3 separate regions of the Homo sapiens genome follow, and regions 2 and 3 are each linked to region 1. The links are contacts of gene promoters, found by promoter capture Hi-C in human tissues and cell types (Jung and others, 2019). All regions are on one chromosome and are shown on one strand. Each heading gives the region's core, a stretch centred on a gene start or on the middle of the fragment in contact. The rest is flanking DNA. Distances are from core to core; before and after follow the strand shown. Region 1 holds the start of ECM2 (extracellular matrix protein 2). Region 2 overlaps CENPP (centromere protein P). Region 3 overlaps CENPP (centromere protein P).

What was found. Contacts are between HindIII fragments. The study calls those that stand out against the background at their distance.
Region 2: a fragment that was not itself captured here is called in contact with the fragment with the promoter of ECM2 in region 1 in 1 of the 25 tissues and cell types used here (lymphoblastoid cells).
Region 3: a fragment that was not itself captured here is called in contact with the fragment with the promoter of ECM2 in region 1 in 2 of the 25 tissues and cell types used here (dorsolateral prefrontal cortex and hippocampus).

Annotation. Positions count from the first base shown.
Region 1 is chr9:92,533,910-92,538,051 of GRCh38, forward strand. ECM2 (extracellular matrix protein 2) reads right to left here and starts at 2,081. Exons shown (of 10, transcript NM_001393.4): 1 at 2,024-2,081. All of the region lies in intron 5 of CENPP (centromere protein P), which reads left to right. The HindIII fragment of the contact is 14,623 bases long and covers 1-4,142 here.
Region 2 is chr9:92,357,279-92,361,420 of GRCh38, forward strand. The region is part of intron 4 of CENPP (centromere protein P); the gene reads left to right. Among named protein-coding and RNA genes, the nearest start is that of CENPP, 33 kb to the left of the region's middle. The HindIII fragment of the contact is 6,350 bases long and covers 1-4,142 here.
Region 3 is chr9:92,375,291-92,379,432 of GRCh38, forward strand. The region is part of intron 4 of CENPP (centromere protein P); the gene reads left to right. Among named protein-coding and RNA genes, the nearest start is that of OGN, 27 kb to the right of the region's middle. The HindIII fragment of the contact is 3,555 bases long and covers 188-3,742 here.

The DNA of each region.
Region 1 (4,142 bases), core at 831-3,330:
TTCTATAGAAATTTTTTTCAAATTTTCAACATATCTTTGATATTTGGAAGTTTTACCTTGGTAAAAGAATGGAATGTACCTTGGTATAGGTTGTTTTTGCTGTTTAATGTATCCTTCTTGGGATCTTTTAAACTAAAAACTTCTTTTTTTCCTATACAAGCTCTCTTCACTCTGTTTTCTCCCATGACTGTTCAAGGGTACATTTTTCCTCTTTAAATTCATTTCTGTCTTCTCTTTGTCTGTGAAGGACTCCTCAGAGTGTCTGTCCCACCAGGAGCTCCCCTTTTTATTTCCTAGTGTAGCTGTATATTCGTGCATTTATTTGTCTGTAATATATCTTGTATTATTTCAAGGGAGTTGGTGAGAGGGGAAGAGGGCACAAGGTCAGCTCAGTTTCCCCTCTTGAATCTCAGTACTTCTTTTTATAACTTCATCTGCCAGAATCATCTTCCTCTAGTCAGGTTTCACTTAGTTAGTTCATAGTCTGACTTGCCACATCACCTTTGTTCAACAAACGGCAGTCTCTAAAGTATCTTCATGCCAGCATACAAACCTTTCTTCAGCGTATATATACATTAATTGCCACAGTCATTTGAAAACCATTACTATAGGTTATTGAAATGACCTATATTTCATAGGTTACTGGAACAACTTTTTGAACAACTTTTTGCAATCTACTTTAGTTTTAGAAAAATTAACATGCAGCATGTAAAGAAGGACCAAATCCATTAGCTGATTGGCACCTGAAATCATAAAAGTCAATTCAGAGAGCAAAGTAGTATGTTGGAAGGGAATAACAACAACAGCAGGGGAAAGCAATATGAAAACCTGAACTGAGAGACAAAGTGAAACTAGAATTTGCTGAGTGGCATGGCAAGTGTGCTCTGATGGATATCATAAGTGCTCTGCAATGCATGAAATGTATACATTGAAATTTTCTTGCATTAACAATTGTATGTGCAGACCTTCCATCCTGTTGTGAGGAGTCAGGGCCTAGACCTCGAGGCTCTAGAGTTAAACTCTCATGAGGGTCTCAGGCATCCTGCTGTCCTGAGGCATCCTGAAAGCACTCACTTATGGGGCATTGCCTGATTGAGTGCTTAGGAGTGTGAATGTGCCAGCTGTGGCCATTCTGAGCACACCCCTCTCTCCCAGTATCCTCATTCTGGAAACTACCTCTCTTTCTTTTTTTCCCCCAAATTGACTCACTTTTACTTACCCAGAAATCTAAATAGATAGGCACAGAAATAAACTTACAGAGCTATTTGAATTTTGACAAAATCAGTATCTAAACAGTCTCACTACAGTGTTTAAATACATTTTAGGAAATGGTCTCTCAATACTAATTTTACTATTAATGCTTAGGCCCTCATTATTTTCATTGATATACAGAATTTTGCTTTGCACTTAATATTTGCTTTCATAAACAACTTCGTAATTGAGTGTTTGCCTCCTAGAGGTAAATTTTCTGGGATTCCAATCATAGTATCATTTTTATCAAGTAATTTTTTTCCTTCTAGCACTTACTGTGTTTATCCCAACATTAAATATTATTTATAAACCTTGATTAACTTATTTTTCTTCATTTAAAATTTCTTACCAGTTATCTTAAGTAAACTTTAAAAATATTAATTTAGAATTTTAAAATTCTACATGAAGTCATGAGATGTCTATTATCTATTTTCACTTCATTCAACAGATTTAAAATGAAAAATATTTTGAATTATTTATGTTCTTTTAGGACTTAAAAATTAATAATATTTTCAAACCAATTTATACTTCTATTGAACACATAATTCCACCTAAACATATAAAAATAATTTAATACTAAGTATACAAGGTCTGAAATACTTGGGAAGTACATCGTGAAAAAAACAAACAGAATAATGCATACTTTGAACTTTAAAAATCTATTAGTAACGAGCTAATTTACTCAAGAGTTAAACAGTTGTGAAATAAAATACCCAAATATTAAAACCATTCCACATGCTAAGTAGAAACTTAAAATTTAAAACTTTTTTACCTGGAGATCTAAACTAAGTAGGCTTTGCTTGGTGTCATTTAAGTCTCCAGCTGAAAATGAAACAAAATCAGAGCTTTCTTTAAAAACAAAGAAAGGACAGAAGGGAATGTTGAAAAGTATTTGCTGAACTTCTTAGTAAAATCTAAAATAACTGCCTCCCTTGGGGATAAATGCCTTTCAGTTCTTTGTGCAGAAAATCAGCCAAGAAAGTAACCAGGGAAAATGGTTACCAAGGGAAATATTTTTTTTAATCATAAGAAAAGTAGAAAACAGCAGTGGGTGTGGGGGAAGAGCATTTTGTTTGCAGGCTGAAAAGGCAGAGTTGGAAACACAAAAATGAGCTTGATTAAGAAATCTGTGGTTTTCATAGACTATTCGCATTAAAAATGTTAAAGTTTATACTAGCCAGGATGATGTCACTTGAGCTTTATCAGATTATAGGGATGATATTCTCGTCAGCTAAAGGCTGTGTATATCTGGAATCTATTTTAAATTGGATTAATAATATTTAACTCATCTGCCCACCCACCTCGATCTCACACACAATACTAACAAAACGACAACAACAAAAAAATGGTTACGTATTAATATCAGTGGAAATTATGTAACTTCTAACCATGAAATAATAGAAAGAAAATGTGAAAGGGAGCTGTGTGGCTCCTAATTACCTGTTACGCTGGCAAATTAGTTGTGTACTTTGGCCTCAGTTTCTTTATCTGCAAATGAGAAGTTAGAGACAGATCAGGATTCCAAGCGCAACCCTGCTGTTTATGAGGGACCTTGAGTAAGTTACTTAATGTTTCTGACCAAAGTTCACTCTTCTGTAAAACTAGGGTGATACCTTTCAAATTTTTCTGAAAATAAAAGGAATAACAGATATGAAGGTCCTAACTCAGTGCCTATCCTAGACTAGGTAATTTTAGAACTATTTTTTAAATTTTTTTTTTTTTTTTGAGACGGGAGTTTTTGCTCTGTTGCCCAGGCTAGAGTGCAATGTCGTGATCTCAGCACACTGAAACCTCCGCCTCCCAGGTTCAAGGGATTCTCCTGCCTCAGCTTCCCGAGTAGGTGGGCTTAAAGGCGCCTGCCACCATGCCAGATTAATTTTTGTATTTTTTTTTTTAGTAGAGATGGGGTTTCACCATGTTGGCCAGGCTGGTCTCGAACTCTTGACCTCATGTGATCCACCCACCTCGGCCTTCCAAAGTGCTGGGATTACAGGCATGAGCCACCGCACCTGGCCTGAAATTCTTATATCGTTATTTCAGGGGTCCAAATCATTTGGCAAAGAGGAGCTAAATATTTGTTTAAATGACGTGGTTAGACTGAATCAGGATTTTGTAAAATGACCTAGATAGACTGAATCAAGATAAGGGACTAAATACATAAGCCACTCAACTTCCTAAAAATAAGGAAAATGATATCTATTTTTAAAAATGTAAAACTAGCTGAGTGCAGTGGCTCACACCTGTAATCCCAGCACTTTGGGAGGCAGAGACAGGTGGATCACCTGAGGTTAGGAGTTTGAGACCAGCCTGGCCAACATGTGAAACCCCGTCTCTACTAACAGTACAAAAATTAGCCGAGTATGGTAGCACATGCCTGTAGTCCCAGCTACTCAGGAGGCTGAGGTAGGAGAATCACTTGAACCTAGGAGGCGGAGGTTGCAGTGAGCCAAGATTGTGCCATTGCACTCCAGCCTGGGCAACAGAGCGAGACTACATCTCAAAAAAGAAAAGAAAAGAAAAGAAAAAGATGAGTACAAATGAGCAAACACCATTAAACAGGCAGTTCATAGAAGAGGAAATGTCAGTGGTCAATAAAACAGAAGAGGAAGATTTCTCAATCTCAGTAACAGTCAAGAAAAGTAAATTAAAACAGGAAGGTTATTTTTTCACTACCATAGTGAGATGTTGCTGACAAAACTTTGGGGGTAGAAAAATTACCCAAATAATGCCAATGCTCAATCAAGCTTGAAGACCACTGCTAATCAAAAATCATGGCCTGATTTGAAATACATACATTGTTTTTTGGGGGAAAAAAATGTTGATGATATGCTGTGTTGGCCAGTGTGTAGGGAAAACAGAAACTCTCCTCTTCCTTGAGGACAGCTGAACAG
Region 2 (4,142 bases), core at 422-2,921, 180 kb before region 1:
CTGTCTAGTGTCCTTTCTTTCACTCTACAGAATTCTCTTGACCATTTCTTACAGAGAAAGTTTAATGATAACCAACTCCCTCAACTTTTGTTTGCCTGAGAATGTCTTAATTTCTCCTGCACTTTTTTTATTTTTTGTTTTATTTTTCTTTTCTCCAGCCACATCCCTTTGATCATCTCCCTCATTATTATTATTATTATTATTATTATTATTATTATTATTATTATTATTTTGAGATGGAATTTCACTCTTGTTGCCCAGGCTGGAGTTCAATGGCGCGATCTCAGCTCACCGCAACCTCTGCCTCCCGGGTTCAGGTGATTCTCCTGCCACGGCCTCCCAAGTAGCTGGGATTACAGGCATGCGCCACCACTCCTGGCTCATTTTTTTTGTATTTTTATTAGAGATGGTGTTTCTCCATGTTGGTTAGGCTTATCTCCGATTCCCGACCTCAGGTGATCCTGCCTTGGCCTCTGAAAGTAGTGGGATTACAGGTGTGAGCCACCGCACCCGGCCACTATCTCCCTCACTTTTTAAGGACAGTTTTGCAGAATAGAAAATTCTTGGTTGACAGATTTTTTTTTTTCTTTTAGCACTTTGAATATATGACCTCACTGACTTCTGGCCTCCATACTTTCTGATGAAAAATCTGCTGATCATTTTATTGAACATCCCTTGTATGTGACCAGTCTCTTTTCTCTTGCTGCTTTCAAGATATTCTCTCTTTGTCTTTGTCTTTTGACAGCTTGATTATAATGTTTCTCTATGTGGATCTCTTAGTTCATCTTGGAGTTCTTTGAGTCTCTTGGATGTTTTATATTCATATCTTTCATCAAATTTGGGATGTTTTAACACTTTATTCTGTCTGCTTCTTCCTCTCTTTTTTTTTTTTTCTGAGACTCCTACAGTGCAGAAGTTGGTAGTTTGTTCTCTTGACATGTCCCCATGTCCCACAGTTTCCTTACATTCTTTTTTTTTCTTTTTAATGGAGTTTCCCTCTGTCACCCAGGCTAGAGTACAGTGGCGCAATCTCAGCTCACTGCAACCTCCACCTCATAGGTTCAAGCAATTCTCCTGCCTCAGCCTCCCGAGTAGCTGGGATTACAGGTGCCTGCTGCCACATTCAGCTAATTTTTTGTATTTTTAGTAGAGATGGGGTTTCACCATGTTGGTGTGGCTGGTCTTGAACTCCTGACCTCAAGTGATCCACCCACCTTGGCCTCCCAAAGTGCTAGGATTACAGGCATGAGCCACCACGCTCAGCTAGTTTCCTTACATTCTGTTCACTTTTCCTCATTCTTTTTTCTTTTTATTTCTCAGACTTGACAATTTCTATTGTCCTATCTCCAGGTTTGGTGATTTTTCTTTCTGCCTACTCAAATCTGCCTTTGAATTCCTGTAGTGAATTTTTCATTTTAATTATTGTACTTTTCACTTCCAGAATTTCTTTTGGTTTTCTTTTAGGTTTCTTTCTTTGTATTGATATTTCTATTGTGTTCCTGTATCATTTTCTTAACTTTCTCCAGATCTTTCTTTAGCATTTTTAAGATGGTGGTTGTAAAGTCTGTATGGTAGATCTACCATCAGATTTTTTTTCAGGGATGCTGTCTATTCATTTATTTTTTTTCATTTCACGAGGCCATTCTTTTGTATCTCTTTTTTTTTCTTTCTTTCTTTTTTTTTTTTTTGAGATGGAGTTTCGCTCTTGTTGCCCAGGCTGGAGTGTAATGGCATGATCTGGGTGCACTGCAACCTCTGCCTCCCAGGTTCAAGCGATTCTCCTGCCTCAGCCTCCCAAGTAGCTAGGATTAAAGGCATGTGCCACCACACCCAGCTAATTTTGTATTTTTAGTAGAGAGGGGGTTTTGCCATGTTGGTCAGGCTGGTCTTGAACTCCCGGCCTCAGGTGATCCGCCTGCCTTGGCCTTTCAAAGTGTTGGGATTACAGGCATGAGCCACCGTGCCCAGCCTTCTTTTATATTTCTTTGTATCCCTTGTGTTTTGTTGTTATTGTTGTTGAAAAGGGCTCATTTGAACCTAATAATGTGGTAACCCCCAAAGTCAGATTCTCCCTCTTCCCCAGGGTTTACAGGCTTGTTATTGTTATTATTTATTTTATTTATTTATTTATTCATATTTTTGTAGGCCATCTCTGTGCCAGGGATTAACCTGAGGTATAAACTTAAGGTCTTCTCAGTTTGTTTCTGGGCTTGAAGCTTTCCATGGGTATGTGCAATCTCTTACAGAATCTCCCCTTATATGCAGTTATTTGTCAATGTCCTAGTCTTGATTGTTCGGCTCTTAGAAAGGGGAAATGAAGAAAATGAAGGTGGGAAAAAAGGAGCTCTGGCCTTTTAAGTCCCCTGGAAATCACTTCAACTGGAGGAAGCAGGGTTTTCAAAAGTGTGGGGATGTGTAACTACAATGGCTGCCTGACTCTTTGTCTACACTTCTGTGATAAGAAGCCGCAGTGAACAAAACACAGATCCTTTATGGCTGGAGGACAGGGTCCTTTTTTTTTTTTTGCTTGCTCTGGCTTCTATAAGCTGTGTGTAAGCTGCTCTGGTTATACTCACATGACTGCCTGCCAGGGGGGTGGGGGTGAAGAAATGGGTAGCTGCTGCTATACTAAGAGCTGAAATTTGCTAAAATTAATCACAATTTACCATCCAAGCCCTTCTCCAAGCCTTTGCCTGGATGTTGCCAGCCTTCATTAGACTCAGAGTTTCCAAATGGTTATATCAAACAGATTCTGCCAGTGAAATTGTTATATAAGTGGAGAGATGGAATTCTGGTACTTCCTATTCTGTCATCTTCTCAAAACCCTCTCCTTTAAATATATTTTAATATTCTCTTTTAATTTATTTCATTCACGTTTTGGCTATATTTGTATTATTTTTTATTGGCTGCTGTGGGGATTATAACATACGTAACCTAACTTTTAACAGTCTATTTAGATTTGATACTTTACCACTGCAGTTATAGTCTTGTGGTCCTATAACCACATGGATCACTTCCCCTTCCTGCTTCATGTGGTAGTTTTCATGTGAATTATATTCACATGTATGTGCTGAAAAACTCCATTAGTCCAGTCTGAGCAACAAAGGAAGACCCTATCTCTACAAAAACAACAACAAAATTAGCTTATTGTAGTGGGGTGCACTCGTAGTCCCAGCTACTTGGTAGGCTGAGGTAGGAGAATTACTTGAGCCCAGGAGTTCGACAGTGCAGTGAGCTGTGATTATGCTATTGCACTTTAGCCTGGGAGACTGAGACCCTGTCTCAAAATATAATAATGATAATAATAAAACTCCATTAGATAACATTATAATGTTTTACTTCAACTGTCATACATACTTTAAATAACTTAAGAAAAGGCTAATAGTTTGTCATATTTCTCCAGATTTTTATTTTTTATTTTTATTTATTTATTATTATTATTTTTTGAGATGGAGTCTTGCTGTCGCCCAGGCTGGAGTGCAATGGCGTAATCTCAGCTCACTGCAAGCTCTGCCTCCTGGGTTCACACCATTCTTCTGCCTCAGCCTCCCGAGTAGCTGGGACTACAGGCGCCCACCACCACACCCGGCTAATTATTTTTGTATTTTTTAGTAGAGACAGGGTTTCACTGTGTTAGCCAGGATAGTCTCGATCTCCTGACCTCGTGATCCGCCCGCCTCGGCCTCCCAAAGTGCTGGGATTACAGGCGTGAGCCCCCGCCCCCGGCCATATTTATCTAGATTTTTAATGTTTCTGCTGCTGTTCTTGATATGGAGCCTTTTTAGGACATGTTGCATGTATCATGGCTCATTTCCCATAAATACTTAAGTGTGTATTTTTATTATTTTACTTTATTTATTTATTTATTTATTTATTTATTGAGATGGAGTCACACTCTGTTGCCCAGGCTGGAGTGCAGTGGCAAGATCTTGGTTCACTGCAACCTCTGCCTCCCAGGCTCAAGTGATTCTCCAGCCTCAGCCTCCCTAGTAGCTGGGACTACAGGCACATGCCACCACATCTGGCTAATTTTTGTATTGTTAGCAGAGACGGGGTTTCGCCGTATTGGCCAGGCTGGTCTCGAACCCCTGACCTCAAGTGATCCATGCACCTCAGCCTCCCAAAGTGTTGGGATTACAGGC
Region 3 (4,142 bases), core at 715-3,214, 160 kb before region 1:
TACTGATTCTTTTTTTTTTGGAGAGGGAGACTCACTCTATTGCCCAGGCTGGAGCGCAGTGCCGCAATCTCAGTTCGCTGCAACCTCTGCCTCCTGGGTTCAAGGGATTCTCCTGCCTCAGCCTCCTGAGTAGCTGGGATTACAGGCACACACCACCACGCCCGGCTAATTTTTGTGGTTTTTTTTTAATAGAGATGGGGTTTCACCACATTAGCTAGGCTGGTCTCAAACTCCTGACCTTGAGATCCGCCCACCTCGGCCTCCCAAAGTGCTGGGATTACAGGCGTGAGCCACCGCGCCCGGCCATTTTTACTGATTCTTATGCCCACTCAAATCTGCTGTTGAGCCCCTTTAGTGAATTTTTAATTTCATTTGTTGTACTTTTCAGTTCTAAAATTTCTATTTCTTTTAAAAAAATTTCTCTCTTTATTGCCATTTCCTGTTTGTTGCATACTTTGTTCTCTTGATTTTCTTGAGTTCTCTAAACATATTTAAGACAGTTGATTTAAAATCATAGCCTAGTAATTCCCCTAGTCATTCAACAGGAGAAGTTTCTGTTAATTTCTTTTTTTTTTTTTCCTATGACTGGGCCATATTTTCTTGTTTCTTTGCATGCTTAGTTTTTTGTTATTGTCATTAAATACTGTACATTTTGAATATTATGATGGGCAAAAAGGAAAAAAATAAGAAAAAAAGATATCTTCTCCAGGTCTGTGCATTTTGGTTCTGTATGGGGACACTACTTCAGTGCTTAGCCAGGTCTTTCACAACCCTGCCTTAGTCCTGTCCTTAGCCTAGAGATTAGCCAGAGGTTGAAGTTATGCTCCCCTCAGATCTCTTCTAAGCATGCATTCTGCCCTGAGCATTCAAGTGGCTTTCTAGTTCCCTGGTATACTTGAGCACTTTTTCCAAGACTTTATTCCCCAAAGATTCTCATTCCCTACCTTTTCTTTCCTTGGCTTTCAGCATATCTGTTGTTTGTCTCAACTGTGCTTTTGCCCTACACAGCAGCAACTTGTTAATTTGCCTTTTAGTATTTTTGAAAAACATCCCCTGTGTAGCTATGTCTTCATGGTGAAGCAGCATTGTTGTCTGGGGTAATACCCAAGGTTCATTGTCCCACAGCCACGGAAAACCAGGACATGAACACACCACTGTGAGGTTAAGAGTGGATATTTAATAGGTGAAAGAAGGAGAGGAGCTGTCTGCACAGAGAGGGGTCCCAGAGAAAATGGGTTGCCGCTTCCACAGTCAAATGCAGGTTTTACAGATGAGCTTGAGGAGGCAGTGTCTGATTTACATAGGGCACAAAAAATTGGTCAGACCAGGTGTACCGCTTGCATAGGATGTGAAGAAGCTGGCCGCCCCACCCTAATCTTTTATTATGCAGATGGGTTCTCTACTGGGCCAGCGCCATGTTGCCTGCTTTTTTACTGTACACGTGGTGACAAAGAAAAGGGAAGATGGAGACCAGGTGCAGTGGCTCACGCCTGTAATCCCAGCACTTTGGGAGGCCAAGGTGGGCAGATCACCTGAGGTCAGGAGTTCGAGACCAGCCTGGCCAATATGGTGAAACCCTGTCTGTACTAAAAATACACAAAAAAATTAGCCAGGCATCATGGCGCACGCCTGTAATCCCAGCTGCTTGGGAGGCTGAGGCGGGAGAATCACTTGAACCCAGGAAGCGGAGGTTTTGGTGAGCCGAGATTGCACCACTGCACTCCAGAGTGAGACTTAGTCTCAAAAAAAAAAAAAGAAAGAAAAGGGAAGATGGAGCCTCCATGTTTAACATACTTGGCTTCCAGGTATCCCTTTTCTATTGCAGAGCATTTACCTGTGCAAACTTCTAGCTTGCTTATCTATGTTTGCAGCTCTATTTTTCAGGCTGCTCTTTGTTAGAAAAGAAATGATTTGGGGGCTGCTTTTTATTAAAAGGGAAGCCTTTCTGAGGGCTCCTTAACCCTCACTATCTACCTAAATAATTTCTTTCTAGCTCCTGTATCAATTGCAAGAAAGTTCTGACTTAGCTGAAATGCAGTCAGACCCCTTGAATCAAAACGATTCCTTGGGAATGAGGTCTCTTTTACTTGGGAACCAAGTCAAGACAAACAATTCCTTGAGAATAAGATCCCTTTGACTGTTGTCAGGATTAGGTTCTCAGGCTAGTAAAGTAGCATGCTATCTTTAAGACTGCTACTGTGGCCAGGTAGGGAGTGTGGCAAGGGTATCTTACAGTACTACAAAACGCTCTTAGCCTTTTTCAGTTGCCCTTTTTCTGATTAAGTGTTTTCTCAGTTGTAAGCTTTTTACTCTCTTCCCAAATTCCAGTAAAAGTGATTCTGACAGCTATGCAGTAGTTTTCAGTGTTTCTGAGACAGGATGACCCCAGCACTTCCTATTTTGCCAAAATTTTTTTGTTCTTATTGTTGAATTTCTAATTCAAAAGCACACCCTAGCCCACTTTAGTCTGTAGTTCAATATCCTATTGTGGTCTGCCCTACTTATGTACTATCCTGAGGCCAATGTGAATTCTGGAAATTATTCTATACTATAATTCAGTTCTCAGTATTTTTTTTCTGTGTAGATTCTGGTTCGTTTTATGTAGGGGTTATTTAGGATTTCATAAACAGATGTAAAAGATTCTTGTCTGAAGGCTCCTCTTCTCTGATTCTCCCTTATCTCTTCTTGGGATGACTTAAGTGCAGGGTGTGGAAAGTTAACAGAGCAACCCACTGTGTGTGCAGCTGCCATGCTGGTTGAGATCAGAAATGACATCCTTTCTTTGCTTATGTTTGCTTGGTGTCAGTTGGGGCTAGCTGACAAAGCTTCCTCTCTCAGTCTTTCCAATAGCAGTACCCGATTGGGAGGTGAGGACTCTGCTTTGCCTGCTTTTCTTATTGTTGGCAGTGATGGTTGACAGGCTTCACACCTCAGCCTCTGTGGCTAAAGTGCCTGATTAGGAGTGAAAGGGGCACAGCTCCTTTTTGGCATTGGGGTTCCCTTCTGCCAGGCCTGTTTCTTCTCATTTTGCATGATCTCCGTTGGTTAGAGGGAATGGTCTTTCCTGGGGCCTTTTGGGTTATTGTTGTTGTTAATGTACCCTTTGGTAATTCTGGGTTGCAGTTTGCTCCTGTGTACAGACTGGGATATACAGGAGGCAAAAATAAATCCTAAGGAATTCTTTTCCAGGTCCTCCCTTGATTCCTGAAGACTCTACCTGTCCTGCTTTCTTCATTCCACATTTCAGAGTTTCTGATGTTTGCTTTATGTGCTGTGTTCATGGTTTTAAATTATAGTTAACGGAAGCATTGGGGTGGAATATGCTTACTCTATCATTACTGGTACAGGAACTCAACTCCCGCAATCATTTATCAAATGAGTGATTAAATGATACATGGTTCTTGCCTTCAAGTTACTTGTGGTGTATGTGGCTTACATTATTAACATAGATGTACTATTAAGAGAATTAAGACTCATTCCTGTGAGAGTTCTCCTAGGCAAAGGAGTGAGATTATTTCTAGCTGTTAGGGAATAGGATACGTGGTGTGGTGGTGTGGTAATTGTTCTGACAATGGTTCTCTGTCACCAACTGGATGTCCTGCAGCTCAGTTCAGTTCTCACACTAACAGACCCCACAAGTTATAGGCAGAGGTCTCCACCAGGAGTGCCTCCACTTCACACTCCAGCTGCAAGTATCAAGGTCCACCTGCAGTTAGGACCAACTGGCCATAAATTCTGGAGTTCCCACATATCTCTCAGGTTTAATAATTTGCTAGAACCGCTCACAGAACGTACTGAAAACACTATACTTACAATTAGCATTTTATTATGAAGGATACAACCCAGACACAGCCAAATGGAAGTAATGCATAGACGAAGGTCTGGGGGTTGGGGAGACAGAGATTCCTTGTGGAATCCAGACACATTATCCTCCCAGTACATCAGTGTATTCATCAACCAGGAAGTTCTGCTGTGCTCCTGGTTAGCCCTCAAATGATGTGTTTGGTGATGTGTTTGATGTGTTTTCCTGGTGAACAGCCTCCAGTCTGCAATACGTAGAAGCCACTATGAGACAACTCATTAGCATAACAAAGACACATCTATCACTCAGGAAGTTCCAAGGGTTTTAAAGCGCTGTGCCA